Regions from separate parts of the Homo sapiens genome. Here region 2 is linked to region 1. Evidence: promoter capture Hi-C in 16 types of primary human blood cells and fetal thymus (Javierre and others, 2016). All regions are on one chromosome and are shown on one strand. The core of a region is centred on a gene start or on the middle of the fragment in contact, and the rest is flanking DNA. Distances in the headings are between cores, read along the strand shown.

What was found. Contacts are between HindIII fragments. The CHiCAGO score rates a contact against its expected background, and 5 or more counts as called.
Region 2: a contact is called between a fragment that was not itself captured here and the fragment with the promoter of ME1 in region 1, in 1 of 17 cell types (monocytes). The highest score is 5.2, in monocytes.

What each region holds. Positions count from the first base shown.
Region 1 is chr6:83,428,069-83,434,327 of GRCh38, reverse strand. ME1 (malic enzyme 1) reads left to right here and starts at 3,277. Exons shown (of 14, transcript NM_002395.6): 1 at 3,277-3,451. The coding sequence starts at 3,374. RefSeq lists enhancers at 1,862-3,061, 3,004-3,173, 3,794-4,063 and a silencer at 3,384-3,573. The HindIII fragment of the contact is 4,994 bases long and covers 1,900-6,259 here.
Region 2 is chr6:83,481,000-83,487,258 of GRCh38, reverse strand. No RefSeq gene overlaps it. Among named protein-coding and RNA genes, the nearest start is that of PRSS35, 28 kb to the left of the region's middle. The HindIII fragment of the contact is 652 bases long and covers 3,726-4,377 here.

The DNA.
Region 1 (6,259 bases), core at 2,028-4,527:
TTGGGGGGAAAATAATGGCAGCAATGTTGAGAGTATGTGCAAAATTTCTCCAGCAGTTTGCTGTCTTGAAGTACAATAGTTATGTGGACATCTGAATTTCAGAAGGTTTATTTAAATGCAGTTTTACTAATTTAGAATTTTATTCCATATGCCATGTTATCAACTGGGATGTGAACTTTTAACAAAATGGTTTGAGGAATGAAACAACTGGGTTGACTATCTGAGAAGAAGGAAAAGAATCAGTGCTTTGTAAAGAAAATCAGTATGTTGCATGCATTTACGGTTATAAATAGCTATATATGTGAAACTAATAAGGTAGTATAACTTGAGTTACTCTGCGATTCATGTAACAACATCTGTATGAACATTACAATAACACAGGTATGTATATTTGATCTTTATTTATTTAAAACATTTAATTAAGGGCCCAAATGCATTGGATTAGACTTGTGCTCTCTAATTCGATGGTCACTGGCATGTTACTAAGCATTTGAAATGTGGCCAGTGCAAATGAGATACTCAGTTTAAATTGTATTTGATTTTAATTTAAATATAAAACAGATACTCAATTTAGTCATTGGAAAACTTTAAGGTATATTTGCAACAAGTTAGGTATGAGAGTCTACTATTGCAAATGTAAGTTTTATAAAATTGAAATACAGATCAAATTTCTGATAAAAATTTGGTGTCTAAATTGAGATGTGTTATAAAATGCACACTAGATTTTGAAGACATAGTAGTAGTGTGCTTTTTGTGTGAAGAAATACAGAATCATTTAGTTAATATTATAAATCCTCACCTAGATATGTATTTTTTCTATTAATCTTTTTTATCTCATGAAAGTAAAATATTAGAATTGCTGTATGTACTAAGAGTTATTTCCTGAATTTTCTATACTTGCAATCTCAACTGACATTACATCAGAGTATCTATTACAATCATATTTTATGTTGTAAAAGCTCTTTGTGTGCTAAACTATAACTTGGGAAAGAAAAATCTGATTTTGACTGATGGCATTCTCACCTGTGTATAACAGAAATCTATGTTTTAGTCTCTTAATTTGTGAATGATACCCATTCTTAACATTACCAATTGCTTTCAGAGTGACAGTGCAACCACAGTTTGTTACAAGGCAAATTAAAGCAGTTTTTTTCTCTGCATCTGTTTTCCTACGTTTTTGGAAATAAAACCTAACCTTATGAGATTATTATTTAAAAAAGACTGAAAATTTTGATATTCTAGCTAACATTTATGTAGAAAAATAGGTTCTTTCTAGTATTCTTGGAACTACATATGAATGTACTAAATGGCTTCTTCAGCTAGGCCTTATCCTGTTTCATTCAAGATGACGGCGGTTATTTTAATAATTAAAATAAACATACAGATGAAAGATGTGAACTTTACCTACTACTGGCAGGATATTGTAATCCCCTTGTAATGTTGCCTTTGAGGGAGAGGCCATATACTCTTTGTGGGTTACTCCCTGTACTTATAACACTTTTCCTATCTGTAGATATTAAATCTCAGAAACAGGAACAGGTAGGTAGTATATCTAAATTCATGTAATAAGTACTTTATTATAATAAGGGTCTGTTGTACTAACATTTTTGTTTCTTCTTAAGCAGCTTGAATTGGCTCCCATGCCAGCTGTTAAACTGTTTCCTCTCACATAAAACACCCTAACTGTAATGTGTCTCAGTTAATTCAGGAGAGTGAGTTGTGTAAAGTACACCTTTTTCTTAGATGTTGTAGGATTGAGTATTTATGGAGTATAGAATTAACAATGAAAGGTGTCATTTAACTTCAAGGATTTTTTTCAAAAAGAACTTTGTGATGCCTAGAAAATATTCTCTATAAAAACAACGAATTCTAGATAATTCAGGCGAGGTCAAAGAAGCTTCTAAATGTAAATACGGACAAAATACAATTACTGTAAGAAATCTTTCTGATAAGGCAAAGTTAACATAACTAGAAATGAAAACACTGTGATTGGATGTGTGTCTAGTATATGGAGATATAAAATCAGCAAATAATCTCAAACACTATCCTTTGTAATATCAGTATGCAGAGACAAATGGGACAGAAACTAGCAATCCTATTTAACTGAAAAGGAAACTGGGGCACAGAAGGCTTTAGTGTCTGTTGCTATTAATTTATTTTTATCAGACAGGCACTCCTTTTGGCTATGATCTGACTATTCCTCCAGTCCATGAACCTCCAAGCATAAATATCAATAAAACAATAAAAAAATGGCCCGGCGCGGTGGCTCACACCTATAATCCCAGCACTTTGGAAGGCGGAGGCGGGCGGATCACCTGAGGTTGGGAGGAAGGCCTGAAAGACTGCTTACTCATCATTATTCAGAGAGAGCAGTGGTTCTTGAACATCAGGTTTCTAGAACTCCCAGAGAAATAATATACAAGATAAACAGGACTGTTCATTGGGCCTTTGCACCCTAACACCTTGACTCTTATCTTATTGACATTCAAATACAATTCCGGTGGAAAATCTGTAGAAACTGACAGGTGTGGCGCCTGAGCTCTCCTCTCTGGGCTTCCTCCCAGTTCCCTTGGGCCTCGGCATTCTGGGTCAAGGTTGGTTCCCTCCGGCCTCAGGGCCCCGGGCATGGCCGGCATCCTGGATGGCACGGCGAAGGTTGTGGATCTGTAGAAAGAGGGCTTCCAAGACGCTAACAAGACAGGAGAGACGAGTCTGATTCTCCTCAGCCTGTCGAGGTGTTCTGTCAACAGTTCTGGGGACCCCTCACGAGTCCTTCCGTCCTGTAATCCCCCTAGGTGTCTGAGCGACCGCCGGCTCTGCCTGAACCGCTCAGGTTCGCACCTTCTGGCATCTTCTCGCACTTTCTCCAGCCTTCCCGGGCAGGGGGATCCTGGCCTGACGCTCCCCGCTCCCTGCCCCCGCCCTGGGTCTCTGGGGTCAGCAGAGCCACCCAGTGCACTGCGTTTAGGCATGCCCACATGGAGAGAGGCGACCACAGCGGTGATCATAAGCCCATGGTGGGCAGAGGCCCTATGGAGCCAAGGGCTCCGGCCGCCACCCCCGCTCCGCCACCAGCAGCGCTGCCAGGACTCGCTCTTCCTCCTCCTCCTCACACGCCGGCTCGGATGATCTCCTGCCATGACTCAGCGCTTCTCGCAGGCTGCCCTGCTGGGGACACCGGCTTCGCTCGGGCCCCTCCCGACGCGTCCACCCCCTCTCGCCACCCACGCCCGCCCCCAGCCGCTGGGCCTTTCCCAGTGCGGCCGCCGCCGCCACAGCTGCAGTCAGCACCGTCACCCCAGCAGCATCCGCCGCCTGCACCGCGCGTGCGGCCCGCCCCGGCCTGACCCCGCCGCCGAACCCGGCGCCAGCCATGGAGCCCGAAGCCCCCCGTCGCCGCCACACCCATCAGCGCGGCTACCTGCTGACACGGAACCCTCACCTCAACAAGGTAAACCCGCAGGCCCACCTGGCCGCCCATCGGCCCCTCTCTATCAGGGTCAGGGCCCTCTTGCAGGTCCCCGCACCATGGCCTCGCCCCTCCGCCGCTCCCCTGGGAAGGTTCCCGGTGAGCGGCCGCGGCCTGGGGGGCCTTGGTGTGGGCAGAAGGAAGAAGGACGCCTAATCGGGTCCGTATCCACTAGAGTGATGGCAGGGCAGTGCTGGTGCCTCTGCACCTCGGCATCCCATGTTAGGGATAGAGGTAAAGGTAAAGGTTAGTGATAGAGGAAAAGGTGATACTTTTCGGCAGCTCTTCTCCAAAAACAAGAGCCCAGACAATGAAAGTAGTATCAGACAAAGTGTGTGAATGGAGTGCCAGGTCAGACTCCATGTGCCACTCACTTACTGGTTGCACACACAGTGTGGCAATTATTGGAAGTTGATAAGGCGAGAAGTGGCTCAACTGGTCCTGCCCAGACAGAAACGTGTACTGAGTGCCTTCAGATCACGTTAGCAATCTGGAAATCCAAGTCCTCTCGGTTTCTGGAGTGACACGGTTAAGAGTCTGGGAATGCGTGGTGGGTGGCCTCTGTCTTGGACACTTTGCATGGCTTGGTAGAAGAACTCTGTCCCAGACATGGGACTGTGGGTAAAGCCATTTCTTTTCTTTCTTTCTTTTGTTTTGTTTTGTTTTGTTTTGTTTTTAATTTGGCTTTCTGGAAGTTAAAAAAAAATTTTGTTTAGAGCTGCTCTCTTTTTATTAAAGGGGAATTCAGTGTACACCCTGTTCAGAGACTCCTTTTCGGATCCTGGTAACATTTCATTTTCCTTCACTGGTGATGCAATATAAGCACTCGGGATGTCTCTCAAATAAAAAATACCTCCGAATTTATCATTTTGCTTCCACACTTATTTTACAGCCAGGTTTGTCTCGGGATTGTTCCTTTTGTGTGTGTGTGTGCGTGCGCTTTGGACATTTCCTATTTATTCAGGAGTCTGAAAATGCCATCAGTCAGCACAGAGGTTTGTTTAGTTATTTTGGTTGTCTCTTTGGTGGACTGCATTTCACATTAAGAACAGAAGCTCAGCTTTTTCCTTGTCGTGTTCCTGATGATTTGTTGATCATATTAATGACTTAAAGACATGATTTATTTAACAAGTTATAGTCAGTGTGAGTGATTTTTTTTGTGTGTGTGGTGACAGGCACCTTTTACAAATCTATGACTGTGTGCTATCTGCCGTCATGTAGCATTATTAAATTGTAAATAATTCCAACTTATTTCTTTCTTTAAAATAAATTTAATTGCTAGTTTGATTGTTTTTTCTTTTCTTTTATTATTCTGCAGGTTTGCCACCTATTTTCAGTAGAACAAAAGTAAAATTTGATGTGACAAAACTATTTGTGACTTGTATGTGTCACCTGCCTACTGTAATTTATGACCAAGTTGTGGGTTGACACTTAAGAAGGACCACATGAGTTGTATAACCTGTTTGATTTTCCTCAAGTTGGGGGCAAGAGTGTCTATTAAGAGTATGTAGATGGCATGAGCAATCCCTGAGCAAGAGTAATTATTGCCTTTACTATGCTTACATCAAGAATTTATTATTATTATTATTATTATTTGAGACGGAGTCGCGCTCTGTCGCCCAGGTTGGAGTGCAGTGGCGCGATCTCCGCTCACTGCAAGCTCCACCTCCTGGGTTCACGCCATTCTCCTGCCTCAGCCTCCCGAGTAGCTGAGACTACAAGCGCCCGCCACCATGCCCGGCAAATTTTTTGTACTTTTAGTACAGACTGGGTTTCACCGTGTTAGTCAGGATTGTCTCGATCTCCTGGCTTCGTGATCCACCCGCCTCAGCCTCCCAAAGTGCTGGGATTACAGGCATGAGCCACCGCGCCCAGCCAAGAATTTATGATATAACAATCCTTGTGACTCCTGTTCACAAGGTTACTAGGAATTAAGGATTAATTCCTACTTCAGAATAATAGTATCACAAAGATCTTCTATCAAAGATAAGATGTAACATTAATATGTTAAAAGCACATTTTCAAATTTGTAATACTTGAACTTTTTATCTGCATTATGTCAAATTGGATCCACAATCCAGTGTACCAACTTGGAGGCAATCGATGGAATAATCTTTTACTCAGTTCTAGGATGGTTATCTGGTACCTTATGGGAGTAACAGAGTTTCCTATGTACCATTGAAACTACAGCTATGGGACTTTCTTCATCTGTCATACATTCAAGACCTCTAGGCCTTTAATTTTGCTAGTAGCTCAGGAATGTTTTGGCTTATTTTTATTCTTATTATTTTGTAATAACCTTGGCTCCAAAGAGACAAGAGTAGATTTTACTTCCCTCAACAACCCAGCCTGTCACATGTCTTCTTCAACCACACTAACACAGAACTTCATCATTTACCTTTGGGTAGCTGCAACAACAGTTTTGCTGGTTTTATTTCCATTGATATAGTTCATTCTACATATATATATGAAAGAGACACCTTCATTAATTAACATTTTCTTCACTTTTCTATTATCCAAGCATTTATAGTATGTTATTATTTCCTATTATGTTTAATGTAAAATCAGTCTGTCAATTGGGTTTACAGTCTTCTCCAAATTTATCTTATTCGTTCCCCAATGTAGGCTTCCACTTAAAATATATTTGCTGAATCTCTTAATTCTTTCCTTTTTGTGTGTAATTTCTACTATGAAAATGTCTTAGTTGATTTAATAATGATCTTTCTAGGGAAGCATTTCTTAGTTATGTTAGTCTTATTATTTAACACCTCTGTTTTTATGTATTCAGTT
Region 2 (6,259 bases), core at 2,802-5,301, 52 kb before region 1:
CGCCCCAAATCACATATTTCCCTTTCTTTAGGGATAATTCAGGAAGGAATCTGAATTTGTTCATACTGAGTATTTGTACAAGCAAAAACCAAAAACATATACCATCTCTTCTAGGGACATTCAAGGGCCACTGACCTTTGCTGTCCCCTTCCCTGACCTTGTTCCTTCCAGTTCTCCCTGTTTTTATTCTTGGTCCTCTGCTCCACTTTTAATACCTGTTCTACTCTCTAGACTTCCTTTATTTCCCTCTCTCTACTATATTCTGTTTATTTTTCCTCCACAATATCTTCCAGTTTATTTTGTGTCATTTATGGTTAAATCCATCTACTGAAGATATTTTTTAAATATTTTATTCTGTATGACTTTCAAACATATGCAAAAGTAGACAGTAGAATATAATGAATGCCCATGTTCCCACTGGCCAACTTCAACAATTGTTTTTTTTCACCTATTTTTCTACCCACTTTCTCCCAGCCCAGTATCATTTTGAAGCAAATCCAATAATCTTCCAAGATTGCTTTTGCACATCACTCTCTCTCCTTGATAGCCATTCCTTGGCCTCTGCTTACCTTTTCATCCTGTAGGAGGTTCTGTCAGAGCTTTTGGGCATAGTGGGAAAAGAACAGGAAAGCATAACATACTGTGGTAGAGAGACTGACATTAGAGGTCTCAGGGGCTATTTCTCTCCTGGGAGTCAGTGTAGGTAGTGATCAGCTTCGCTTTTCTTTTTTTCTTTCTTTCTTTTTTTTTTTTTTTGAGACAGAGTCTCGCTCTGTCACCCAGGCTGGAGTGCAGTGGTGCGATCTCAGCTCACTGCAACTTCCTCCTACCTGGGTTCGAGCGATTCTCATGCCTCAGCCTCCCATATAGCTGGGACTACATGCATACGCCACCACGCCCGACTAATTTTTGTATTTTTAGTCGAGATGGGGTTTCACCACATTGGCCAGGCTGGTCTTGAACTCCTGACTTCAAGAAATCCACCCGCCTTGGCCTCTCAAAGTGCCAGGATTACAGGTGTGAGGCACCGTGCCCGGCCAGTGATTAGTTTCTGATGAGTGTAGTAGTAACCTTTGATGTCTGTCACCTACCTTACTCTGCTCCAGGGGCCACTCCTCTGGATCAATGGCTTGTGCCTCAAGAAATTGGAGTTCTAGGTCTGTTTATTGTACTTATCTTGAACTGCCTTTAAGACAGACCTCAAATAATTCCTTCAGAAAAATTTCTGAGGTATATAAGCTCCCAGGAAACAAGACACATGAGTAAGATCCAAGAGAATAAGACACACAGAGACTGCACATATTGGAATTATTAGACATATTTTATTTTTTAAATTTAATTTTATTTAACTTTCCAGGATACATATACAGGACGTGCAGGTTTGTCACATAAGTAAACGTGTGCCGTGGTGGCTTGCCACACCTGTCAACCCATCACCTAGGTATTAAGCCCACCATGCATTAGCTATTTATCCTGATGCTCTCCCTCCCATTGCCCCCCAGCCCCCTGAAAAGGCCCCAGTGTGTGTTGTTCCCCTCCCTGTGTCCATGTGCCTTCATCGTTCAGCTCTCCCCTATAAGTGAGAATATGCCGTGTTTGGTTTTCTGTTCCTGTGTTAGTTTGCAGAGGATAATGGCTTCCAGCTCCATTCATGTCCCTGCAAAGGATATGATCTCATTCCTATTTATGGCTGCATAGTATTCCATGGTGTATATGTACCACATCTCCTTTATCCAGTCTATCATTGATGGGCATTTGGGTGGATTCCATAGACATAATATTTTAAATAAGTCTGTTTAAACAGTTTAAAGCAATAAAAGAAGGTATTGAAAATATGTGTAAGGGTCAAGAGATTCATTTCTAAAAGACCAAACAGATCTGAAAAAAGAACTAAATAAAATTTTTCAAGATGAGATTATAAATAAAATTGAAAACAGTGAGTATTTTCATAAATGAGATAGTCATATAATTGAACCTGAATGTGATTAAACCTCAAAATCCAAATATCAATTGGTAGAATATATAGGAGCTAGAGGAATATGTTAAACTAAACTGCAGATAAGCAATTGTCAAAATCCAAACTGTAGAAATTTCCTTAAAACAACTCATTTTTCTTAAAAATAGATTACAAGGAAAATATAAAAATATGGAAGGGAACCTATTGATTGAAAGGACATATTCACCAATTGCAATATATTTATCTTATTCAGATTCTGATTCAAACAACTTATAAAAATACAACATTTATGACACAGAAATTTGAACAGCCACTGGATGTTGATGCTATTCAGTGGATATAATCCTATGGATATTAAATAATTATTGTTAATTTGGGCTGTAATAATGGTATGGTGATTTGTGTGAAAACAAGAGTTCTTTTACATATATGTACTGAAATATTTATGGGTTTCTATTTTAATAAATGATTAATCATCTTGGTTTGCTAAGGACTGTCCCAATTTTAGCACTCAAAGTCCCTAATCAAAAAAAAAAAACCTCAGTCTTGAGCAAACCATGATGGTTGGTCACTCTGGTACGGTGTTGATTCTGTGAAATTGGTTGAATTATTGTGCATTAAAATCACTCGTTAAATATTTTTCTATTTGATTTGTTTCCTTTTTCTTTCTTCTTCTTTTTTTTTTTTTTTTTTTTTGCCAATGGGGCGATTTCGGCTCACTGCAACCTCTGCCCACCCCAACTCTCCCAACACCTAAGCCTCGGCTCAAGCCGTCCTCCCACCTCAGCCACCTGAGTAGCTGGGACTACAGGCATGCATCACTATGCCTGGCTAATTTTTGTATTTGTAGTAGAGACGGGGTTTCACCATATTGCCCAGGCTGGATTGCTTGCCTTATTATTGAGTTGTAAGGTCCTAATCTATAATATATAGATTTTAAAAAATATATCACATATATGTAAAAGTTACTTACTAAGGTATAATTTATAAACAATTATATATACAAATCCTAAAAATACAACTTGTAAACTTTTACATAGTTATGTAAAATATATAATATTCTGGATAGAAGTGCTGTGTCAGATATATGTATTGCAGGTATGTTCTTCTAGGCCAGGCTTGTCCAACCCACAGCCCATGGGCCACACACAGTCTAGGATGGCTTTGAATTCAAACCGACACAAATTCATAAACTTCCTTAAAACATTGAGTTTTTTTGCAAATTCCTTTTTTAGCTTATCAGCTGTCATTAGTGTTAGTGTATTTTATGTGTGGTCCAAGAAAATTCTTCTTCTTCCAACGTGACCCAGGGAAGCCAAAAGATTGAACACCCTCATTCTAGGCTATGGAGTTCCTTTCTCTTCGTAAATAGTACCTTTGGATGAGCAGATTTTAAAATTTTGATGAAGACCAATTTATCAATTAAAAAATGTTATGGTTAGTGCTGTTTGTGTCCTGTTAAAAAAAACCTTTCCCTATCTCAAGGTAGTTTAAGCTTTCAAGTGTATATTTGATCTACCCAGAATTGACTTAGTGCATAGGTGTGAGATAAGGGTCAAATTTTATTTCTTATACGTACGAATATCCAGTTGCTCTAGCACCATCCATTGATATGACCATCCTTTTTTTTCTTGGATATAAATTATTGTTTTTGTTGTAAAGCCAGTGACCAAATATCCATGGGCTTATTTCTGGACCCTTTCTTCAGTTCTATTGATCTATTTATCTATCTTTGTGCCAATGCCACACTGTCTTAATTGCCTAAGCTTTATAGCAAGTTTTAAATCTGTTTAAGTAGGTCTTCTAGCTTAGTGTTGGATTTTTGGTTTTTTTTTTTTTTCTTTAGGATTGTTTTGGCTAGTCTAGGTCTTTTGCATTTTCATATGAACTACAGATTCATATTATCAGTTTCTACATACAAATAATTAAGCCTGCTGGGATTTTGATTGGGATTCTGTTAAATCTATAGATCAATTTTAGGGGGAAATGATATCTCAAAAACACCACGCTGGTGGTTTATCTCTACACTTATTTAGGTCTTTAATTTTTTTTTTTGTTTTGAGTCTCACTCTGTTGCCCAGGCTAGAGTGCAGTGGCACAAACACTGGCTCACTGTCGCCCCGATTCCCCTGGGCTCAAGCCTCCTGAGTAGCTGGGACTACAGGTGTGCCACCATGCCCAGCTAATTTTTTTTTTTACTAGAGAAGAGATCTCACTATGTTGCCCAGGCTTGTCTCAAATTCCTGGGCTCAAGTAATTCACCTGCCTCAGGCTCCCAAAATGCTGGAATTACAGGCGTGAGCCACTGCACCCAGCCAGGTCTTTAATTTTTTGAGCAATGTTTGATTACTTTTAGCTTATAGATCTTCCACACTTTTTTAGAATGTACTTTTCTCTTCTAGCTCCTTGAAGTGGAAGCTTAGATCATTGATTTTAAAACTTTCATCCTTTCTAATATATGCATTTAATACACATTTTCTACTAAGTATTGCTTTGGTTGTATCTCATAGAATTAATTTGTATTGTTTTTCAATTCAAAATACTCTCTAACTTTTCTTGTGATTTCTTCTTTGACCAATAGATAATTTAGAAATGTATTTCTTAATTTCTGAACATATCTTTTTGCTTTTGATTTCTAATTTAATTCCATTGTGATAAGAAAATATATTCTGTATGATTTCAGTCATTCAAAATGTATTGAGACTAGCTTTATAGCCCAGAATATTGTCTATTTTGGTGAGTGATCTATGTGCATATAAATAGTATGTGTTTTTTTCTTTTTTGTAGTTGTTGAGTATAATATTCTATAAACTCTATAAATGTTCAATTAGTCAGATTGGTTAATGGTATTGTTCATATCTTCTATATTATTAATATTACTGATATATTGTCTGCCTGTTCTATCAATTACAGAAAGAAGTATTTTTAAATCTCCAATTCTAATTGTGGATTTATCTGTTGATCCTTTTATTTTTGTCAATTTTTACTTCCTTTTTGAAGGTATGTTATAAGGCAAATATACATTAAGGATTTTTGTGACTTCCTATTGAATTGACCCTTTTATCATTAGGAAATGTCCCTTTATATCTAGTAATATTTTTTGCCTGAAAGTCTATTTTTGATATTAATGTAGTCATATCAACTTTCTTATGATTAGTGTTTACACGGTATATGGTATTTATGTTTTCATCATTTTACCTTCAACTGTTCTGTGTCCTCATATGGGATTTTTTTGTCTTTTTATTTTTTGAGACAGAGTCTTGCTCTGTTGCCCAAGCTGGAGTGCAGTGACACAATCTCAGCTCACTGCAACCTCTGCCTCCCAGGTTCAAGCTATTCTCATGCCTCAGCCTCCTGAGTAGCTGGAATTTACAGGCACATGCCACCATGCCTGACTAATTTTTGTATTTTTAGTAGAGACAGGATTTCGCCATGTTGGCCAGGCTGGTCTCAAACTCCTGGCCTCAAGTGATCTGCCCACCTGGGTCTCCCAAACTGCTGGGAGCCCCTGCACCCAGCCTTAAATTTTGTGTCTTATACGTTGGTTCCATTTTTTAAATTTAGTCTAACTATCTGCCTTTTAGTTGGAGTGTTTAGTCCTTTTGTACTTAAAGTAATTACTGATATGCTTTTGGGTCTACCCTCTCAGTACTCACTTTCTATTTCTTCATGTGTTTTTTATTTCCGTGCTCCTCCTTTACTGCCTTCTTCTGGATGTGCGCTTCACATGTGTCTGCACGTGTAGTATGTGACTATGCCGTGAGAATGTTGCCTTTAATTTATAAATTAAAATGTGATGAAGTTAAGAGCATAGTTAATTTAATTCTATTACTTCATTAATTTCTTTTTTAAATTTTAGATTCAGAGGGTACACACGTAGGTTTGTTACATGGATATGTTGCATGATGCTGAGGTTTAGGCTTCTATTGAACCTGTCACTAAATAGTGGACATAGTACCCAATAGGTGTTTCTTCAACCATTGCCTCCTTTGCTACCTCCTCCCTTAGGGAGTTTCCAGTGTCTCTGGTTTCTATCTTTATGGCCGTGTGTACCCAATGTTTAGCTCCCACTTATAAGTGAAAACATGTAGTATTTGATTTTCTGTTTCTGTGTTAATTCACTTAGGATAATAGCCTCCAGCTGCATCCATGTTGCCTCGAAGGACATGGTTTTGTTCTTTTTTATGGCTGCTACTTCATTCATCTCTGAGTGCACTGAAGTGATTGGTTAAATGACAACATATCTGTCCTGTCAAGCTCTTTAACTTGTAAGCCAGAATTTAACTCAAGTCTTTAAAGAGA